2 separate regions of the Homo sapiens genome follow, and region 1 is linked to region 2. The links are contacts of gene promoters, found by promoter capture Hi-C in blood cells and fetal thymus (Javierre and others, 2016). All regions are on one chromosome and are shown on one strand. Each heading gives the region's core, a stretch centred on a gene start or on the middle of the fragment in contact. The rest is flanking DNA. Distances are from core to core; before and after follow the strand shown. Region 1 has its middle 12 kb from the start of VPS13D. Region 2 holds the start of PLOD1 (procollagen-lysine,2-oxoglutarate 5-dioxygenase 1).

Region 1 (3,703 bases), core at 900-3,399, 280 kb before region 2:
TTTGGTATTTCGTATTGAGATGTATGTTACACATCTCAACCTGAACTAGCCATGTTTCAAGTACTCAGAAGCATCTGTTCCTGGTAGCTACTCTATTTGGAAGCACAGGTCCAGAATCTCTTGTGAAAGTGCAAGCAGCCCAGGGATAGATGGTACCATCACCCCATGGGGAAAAAAAGAGAAAAGGTGGCCGGGCGCGGTGGCTCATACCTGTAATCCCAGCACTTTGGGAGACTGAGGTGGATGGATCACGAGGTCAGGAGATGGAGATCATCCTGGCCAACATGTTGAAACCCTGTCTCTACTAAAAATACAAAAAATTAGCCAGGCATGGTGACTGGTGCCTGTAGTCCCAGCTACTCGGGAGGCTGAGGCAGGAGAATCACTTGAACCCGGGAGGTGGAGGTTGCAGTGAACTGAGATTGCACCACTGCACTCCAGCCTGGGTGACAGAGTGAGACTCTGTCTCAAAAAAAAAAAAAAAAAAAGAGAAAGAGAGAGAAAAGGCAAATAGACCACAGCTCAGAGGCCAGCCCCCTCATCTCACAGATGGTGATTCTGAGCTCCAGAGGGGGACAGAGGCTGCTCAAAGTTCACATGGCAAAATAGTGGTGGAACCAAGGCACAGTCACTCTTAGGATTCCCAGCCTTTAGATTCACCCAAAGCAGCTGCTCAGCCCAACCTCCTAGCTTTCAGGGTGCTGCTAGTTTCCCCAGAAAGATGTCTACCCCTTTAAATCCAGGTTTCCTTGACTTTCTTGTGAAATTCTAAGGAGCTGCTTATCAGGAACTTCCCACAGTAAACAGCCTGTCCAACACAATCCTAAGATAAGTGTCAAACCCAGCCCTGCCAGCCCTATGTCCTCCTCTGCAAAGCAGGGATAATGAGTACCTTGCCTATCTCGCAGGACAGTTACCGAGTTGAAATGATGCAACCTCACTTTCTCAACTGTGGTATTTTGGGGTTTTTTGGGGACAGGGTCTCGCTCTGTCACCCAGGCTGGAGTGCAGTGGCACCATCACAGCTCAAGCAATCTAGCTAATTTTTTGGTAGAGACGAGGTCTCCCTATGTTGCCCAGGATGGTATTAAGCTCCTGGCCTCAAGCCATCCTCCCACCTTGGGCCTCCCAAAGTGCTGGGATTACAGGTGTGAGCCACCATACCCAGTCTGCTTTCTCAGCATTAGCTCAGACAATGCTATGGAACTTCCCACACTCCCCAGCTCAGGCCCCTCCCATGACACTGAAGATAAAACCTAACGGCCCAGCATGGTGGCTCCCACCTGTAATCCCAGCACTTTGGGAGGCTGAGGCAGGCGGATCACCTGAAGTCAGGAGTTCAAGACTGGCCTGGCCAACATGGCAAAACCCTGTCTCTATTAAAAATACAAAAATTAGCCAGGTATGATGGCAGACAACTGTAATCCCAGCTGCCTGGGAGCCTGAGGCAGGAGAATCACTTGAACCCGGGTTGCAGTGAGCCAAGATCACACCACTGTACTCCAGCCTAGGAGACAGAGCAAGACTCTGTCTAAAAAAAAAAAAAAAAAAAAAAGCCAAAGTCCTTTCCATGGCTTCACACCACTCTCCCAACCCCATATCCCATCCCACCCCCCATAGTCCCATGGCTGTCCTGTCCTCCCCTCACCAAGGTGTCTGCTTAAACTCCAGCACCTCAGAGAAGCCTTCCTCAACCCACCTTGCAAACTGGCAGCAACCCTATCTGTCCCTTCACTTTGCTTTATTTTTCTTAGCACTTACCACTACAGGCATAGCCTACATGTCTGTCTTTACATAGTCCCTGCTAGTGTGTCAGCTCCAGGTGGACAGGGACCTTGCCTGTGCTGTTATCTGCAGCATTCTCAGCACCTATACATTAAAAAAAAAAAGCAATTAACATGTATGGAGCCCTGACAATGTGCCAGGCACAGTTCTAAGCATTTCAGACAGTAACTGATGTAATCCCACAATCTGAGGGAGGTACGATTTTAATCCCATCTTACAGATAAGGCGAGTAAGGCACAGAGACATCAGAGATATTCATTCACTTGATTGAGGTCACAGCAACAGGAAGTGTTGCATCCAGGATTCACACCTGGGCAGGTAGGCTTCCAGGACCTACAACTTTTCTTCTTTAAGACAGTGTCTCGGGGCTGGGCGTGGTGGCTCATGCCTGTAATCCCAGCACTTTGGGAGGCCGAGGTGGGCGGATCACGAGGTCAGGAGATCGAGACCATCCTGGCTAACACGGTGAAACCCCATCTCTACTAAAAATACAAAAAAGTTAACCGGGCGTGGTGGCGTGCGCCTGTGGTCCCAGCTATTTGGGAGGCTGAGGCAGGAGAATGGCGTGAACCTGGGAGGCGGAGCTTGCAGTGAGCTGAGATCAGGCCACTGCACTCCAGCCTGGGTGACAGAGCAAGACTCCGTCTCAAAAAAAAAAAAAAAAAGACAGGGTCTCACTCTGCCACCCAGGCTGGAGTACAGTGACTCGATCACGGTTCACTGCAGCCTCGACTTGATCACGGTTTATTGCAGCCTCAACTTCCTGGGCTCAAGCAATTCTCCCACCTCAGCCTCCCACAGTGCTGGGATTACAGGCTTGAGCCACCGCGCCAGGCTGGACCCACAATTTTGGGTTCTGTGCTTGTTCATCTATAATGATAATGAATGAATGAGAACAATAAAGAGAACTCAAAAAGACATTCCTTCTCTACCCAGGCTGGTCCTAGCTCCGCCAAACCACATGTTCTGTCCTGATTAAAGAAATGGGCAAGAGAAGCTGCAAGCCTGGCCCATGCTGACTGGTTGCTGTATCAGGCAGGTGGCTGCCCCTGGTTGCTCCAAATGGACCCCCTCAAACAGAATCATCTGGTGCCTCCTCTGTCTCCAGATAGGTGGTGAGCTCTGGGAAACAGCAGCGCTGGATCTGGTCCCTCGGGCTCAGCACCAGCCGATGTCCAATGCCTATGAGAGGAAGGAGCCAAAGCTGCCCTCCTCCCCCAGCACCAAGTCAATTCCCTGCTCTCAAAGGGGGTTTATTCCAGTTTCCATGATCCACACACTGGCTCAGCTCATGTTTCATACATTGACATCCCAACCAGGTTGGTGCTGTTACTATCCCCATTGTATATATAGATGGGGACTCAAGCTCAGTGCAGCCCCAGCCTCTGCAGAGTGGATGTTCAGTAAACGTGAACATCCACAGCAATGACACCATGAGTGAACACCAGAGCTGCTGGGGCTGCAATGGCCTCTGTGCAGGAAACACAGGGCACAGGCAAGTTGAAGGAAAACGCTTTTGCCAAGGAGAGGCAAGCATTAGAAGAACCCACAAGGAGAGGCACTAGCGGGAAGCTATGGGGCCACAGTGGTGGTGGCAGGGAGAATCTACCAGAAGGGGAAGGGGAGTAGGGAATACACACCTGGCCTCACTTTCTTCCCATCCTCCAGTCTCCTGATGAGTTGGGATCGTTCCCTTAGCCCCCTTCATAGGCAGGAATTGGAGTGGCTCATTTCATTCAGCCTGCCGCTGGCCACTCCTCGTGAAAGAAAGCATGTAAGCAAGTGAGTGCGAGGACCAGAGGGAATGAATGCCGGAACTGGCCAGTCGCTCCTTTCTGGTAGGAGCAGGCTCTGTACAGGCCCCACAGCAGCATCCAAGTCCCTGCCTTCTCAGCATGCAGATTCTTGTCTGGCATCC
Region 2 (3,578 bases), core at 133-2,632:
CCAACACTTTGGGAGACCAAGGTGGGCTGATCACCTGAGGTCAAGAGTTCAAGACCAGCCTGGCCAACATGGTGAAACCCCATCTCCACCAAAAATACAAAAATTAGCTGGGCATGGTGGCACATGTCTGTGATCCCACCTACCTGGGAGGCTGAGGTACAGGAGTCGCTTGAACCGGCCGGGCGCGATGGCTCACGCCTGTAATCCAAACATTTTGGGAGGCTGAGGCCAGCGGATCAAGAGGTCAGAAGTTCAAGACCAGCCTGGCCAGCATGGTGAAACCCCATCTCAACTAAAAATACAAAAATTAGCTAGGCATGGTGGCACGTGCCTGTAATCCCAGCTACTTGGGAGGCCGAGGCAGGAGAAACACTTGAACCTGGGAGGTGGAGGTTGCAGTGAGCTGAGATTGTGCCACTGCATTCCAGCCTGGGCGACAGAGCGAGACTCCATCTCAAAAAAAAAAAAAAGAATTGCTTTTACCTGGGAGGCAGAGGTTGCAGTAAGCCGAGATCGCATACTGCGTTCCAGCCTGGGCGACAGAGCAAGACTCTGTCTCAAAAATAAATAAATAACTAAATAAATAATACATTAAGTAAAATAAAAAAAATAAACTGCAGAGAGGAAGACCACCCTGGCAGGGGCTAAGCAGACCACAGGGGACATGGATGAAAGCACAAACTTATCCACAAAGTGAGCCACACCTTCTACCCCCATTCCTCCCCTGTCCCCCTCAAGACCCCTCATTCCCATGGTCATGAGGCCTCCTGGCTCTGGAACCAGACACCTGGGTGGGTGGGGTAAATCCTGGTTCCAAGGCCCACAAGTTGTATGATCTTGGGCAAGTGAATGAACTCTGGAGCCTCAGTTTGCCCAGCTGGAAAACGGGGATAATAGAAGGAAACACTTACCAGGGTAGCAATCATGCCTAACTGATGCCTGGCCCATAGTGAGCACTGGGCAGAATAGCCATTGTCGGTTATTATTATGAAAACTATTATTATTTGAGCCTTTCTGTGCTGAATGGGACTCAGCTGTCACCCTTTCCTTCCCGAAGCAGGAACCGCAGCCCCAAGAGGGGAAGTGATTTGTTCAAGTCACCAGCGATTAAGTGGACAAGGAGCCGGAACCCAGACTCCCTCTCCAGCCCAGGCCTCCCATTCAGGTCGTTCCCAGGGAGGCAGCCCGACACCAGCCCTCCCGCCCGGATCCGCGCTCCCGCCCCCGGCCTTCGCTCCCTCACCCTCCGGCTTGGCGTCGCCCTTCGCTTCGGCCAGCAGCAGCCAGCCCAGCAGGGCCAGTAGCAGCAGGGGCCGCATGGCCGAGGTATGGGGGACGATCGGCCGACCCGGCGGCGCTCGCAGGGCTGGAAACTTCGCGACGGGGCCGCAGGTCCCGCTGCCACGCACTGGGCCCGCCCCGGGGGCGGCACCACCCCGCCCCTCCACGCCCTCCCCCGCGCCTGCCTAGTGGGGAAGGGTTTTTCTGCAGATATGCCCAAGTCCGGGCCTCTCCTTATTAGGGCAGCTCCCTCCGCCTCTCTGTGCAGCTCCCGGGGCTTCCGTCAGGCCCTGCCGTCTCCCTCCCTTCTCTGGGGGGTTCACTCCGACCAGAAAGAGGGCGGTGAGAGGAGAGAGAGGCCACGATTTCTAGACCCCAGGTTCTGGGCCAAGGCTCCATGGCATCGATAGCCACGAGCCCCTGTTTGCTCGCCTGAAAAGTGGGGCTTATGATAGCGTCTGTTCATTGGGTCTTGCACGGGTTAATGGCGTTACCTGTAGCGCACTTAGAGCAGCCCCAGGTCAAGCCCCAAGGAAGTCAGTTTTCATGATTTCATTAGTCCTTCCCAAAACCCAAGGGGTGAGGGTGGGCACGGATGCGTTCAGAGACACGGACACCCCTACGTGGCCCACCCAGGCACTGGAAATGCAGGAAGCCCGTCTCCACTCTCCCCAAAAGGCAATCACTTGATCTCCCTTTGTGTCCCTGGGAGGCAAACCTCTGAGCCAAGGAAAGTCTTGCTTCTGAGGTTTTTTTGTTTTTTGTTTTTTTTTTTTCATTTTTTTGAGACAAGGTTGCTTTCAGTTGCCCAGGCTGGAGTGCAGTGGCGTGATCACCGCTTGCTGCAGCCTCGACCTCCCGGGCTCAAGCGATCCTCCCATCTCAGCCTCCCAAGTAGGTGGGATCACAGGCCTGAGCCACCATCCCTGGCTAATTTTTCTACCTTTTTTTTGAGACAGAGTTTCACTCTTGTTGCCCAGGCTGGAGTGCAACGGCGAGATCTGGGGTCACGGCAACCTCCGCCTCCCGGGTTCAAGCAATTCTCCTGCCTCAGCCTCCCGAGTAGCTGGGATTACAGGCATGTGCCACCATGCCCAGCTAATTTTGTATTTTTAGTAGAGGTGGGGTTTCTCCATGTTGGTCAGGCTGGTCTTGAACTCCCACCCTCAGATGATCCACCCGCCTTGGCCTCCCAAAGTGCTGGGATTACAGGCTGAGCCACCACACCCTAGAGAGATTAATTGTTAAATGAGTAAACGAATCGATGAAAGTTTTTAGGGCCTCTTCACAGATACCCAAAGCCCAACAAACAACTCAACGGTCTCTAGAGTAAGGGCTCCTGGACCAGATGTCAGACAGGGGCAGCCACCTCTGAACAAAAATCCTTCCTTCCTTGGAAGAAACCTCAGACAGAGGCCGGGCACGGTGGCTCACACCTGTAATCCCAGCACTTTGGGAGGCTGAGGCGAGCGGATCACAAGGTCAGGAGTTCAAGACCAGCTTGACCAACATGGTGAAACTCTGTCTCTACTAAAATACAAAAATTAGCCAGGCGTGGTGGCGCGCGCCTGTAATCCCAGCTACTCAGGAGGCTGAGGCAGTAGAATCACTTGAACCCAGGAGACTGAGTTTGCAGTGAGCCAAGATTGAACCACTGCACTCCAGCCTAGGCGACAGAGCGAAACTCTGTCTCAAAAAAAAAAAAAAAGAAAAAAAAGACCTTAGACAGGGACCCAGGAGCCTTCTCCCAGCTGATTAGGCTCCAGAGGAGTGGGTGGCAGGTGTAACCCTAGGCTGGCAGGGGGTTCCCTGCAGGGGGCAAAGGGGTGGGAGAGAAGGAATGTCACGAATGTCAATGGACGACAAAGAGCAGGCTATGCGTCTGTGCTGGGAAAAGATATTAATAAATCAACAGCATTCAGATGAGCTGGGTGCGGTGGTTCATGCCTGTAATCCCAGTACTTTGGGAGGCCAAGACAGCCAGATTGCTTGAGCCCAGGAATTCAAGACCAGCCTGGGCAACATGGTGAAACCCCTTCTTTACTAAAAAAACAAAAATTAGCTGGGCATGGTGGCATGTGCCTGTAGTCCCAGCTATTCAGGAGGCTGACTGGGGAGGATCACTTGAGCCCGGGAGGTGGAGGTTGCAGTGAGCCATGATCACACCGCTGCACTCCAGCCTGGGCAAGAGAGTCAGAACCTGCCTCAAAAAAAACAAACAAACCAAAAAATAAAAATAAAAACAAAATAGCATTCAGATGCTGCAGCCAGAGAAATACACTACCCATATGATGTTA

What was found. Contacts are between HindIII fragments. The CHiCAGO score rates a contact against its expected background, and 5 or more counts as called.
Region 1: a contact is called between a fragment that was not itself captured here and the fragment with the promoter of PLOD1 in region 2, in 1 of 17 cell types (neutrophils). The highest score is 7.2, in neutrophils.

What each region holds. Positions count from the first base shown.
Region 1 is chr1:12,215,860-12,219,562 of GRCh38, reverse strand. No RefSeq gene overlaps it. Among named protein-coding and RNA genes, the nearest start is that of VPS13D, 12 kb to the left of the region's middle. The HindIII fragment of the contact is 5,126 bases long and covers 1-3,703 here.
Region 2 is chr1:11,932,521-11,936,098 of GRCh38, reverse strand. PLOD1 (procollagen-lysine,2-oxoglutarate 5-dioxygenase 1) reads right to left here and starts at 1,382. Exons shown (of 19, transcript NM_000302.4): 1 at 1,244-1,382. The coding sequence starts at 1,319. RefSeq lists a silencer at 1,104-1,573 and enhancers at 750-1,673, 1,794-1,843, 1,674-2,599. The HindIII fragment of the contact is 16,832 bases long and covers 1-3,578 here.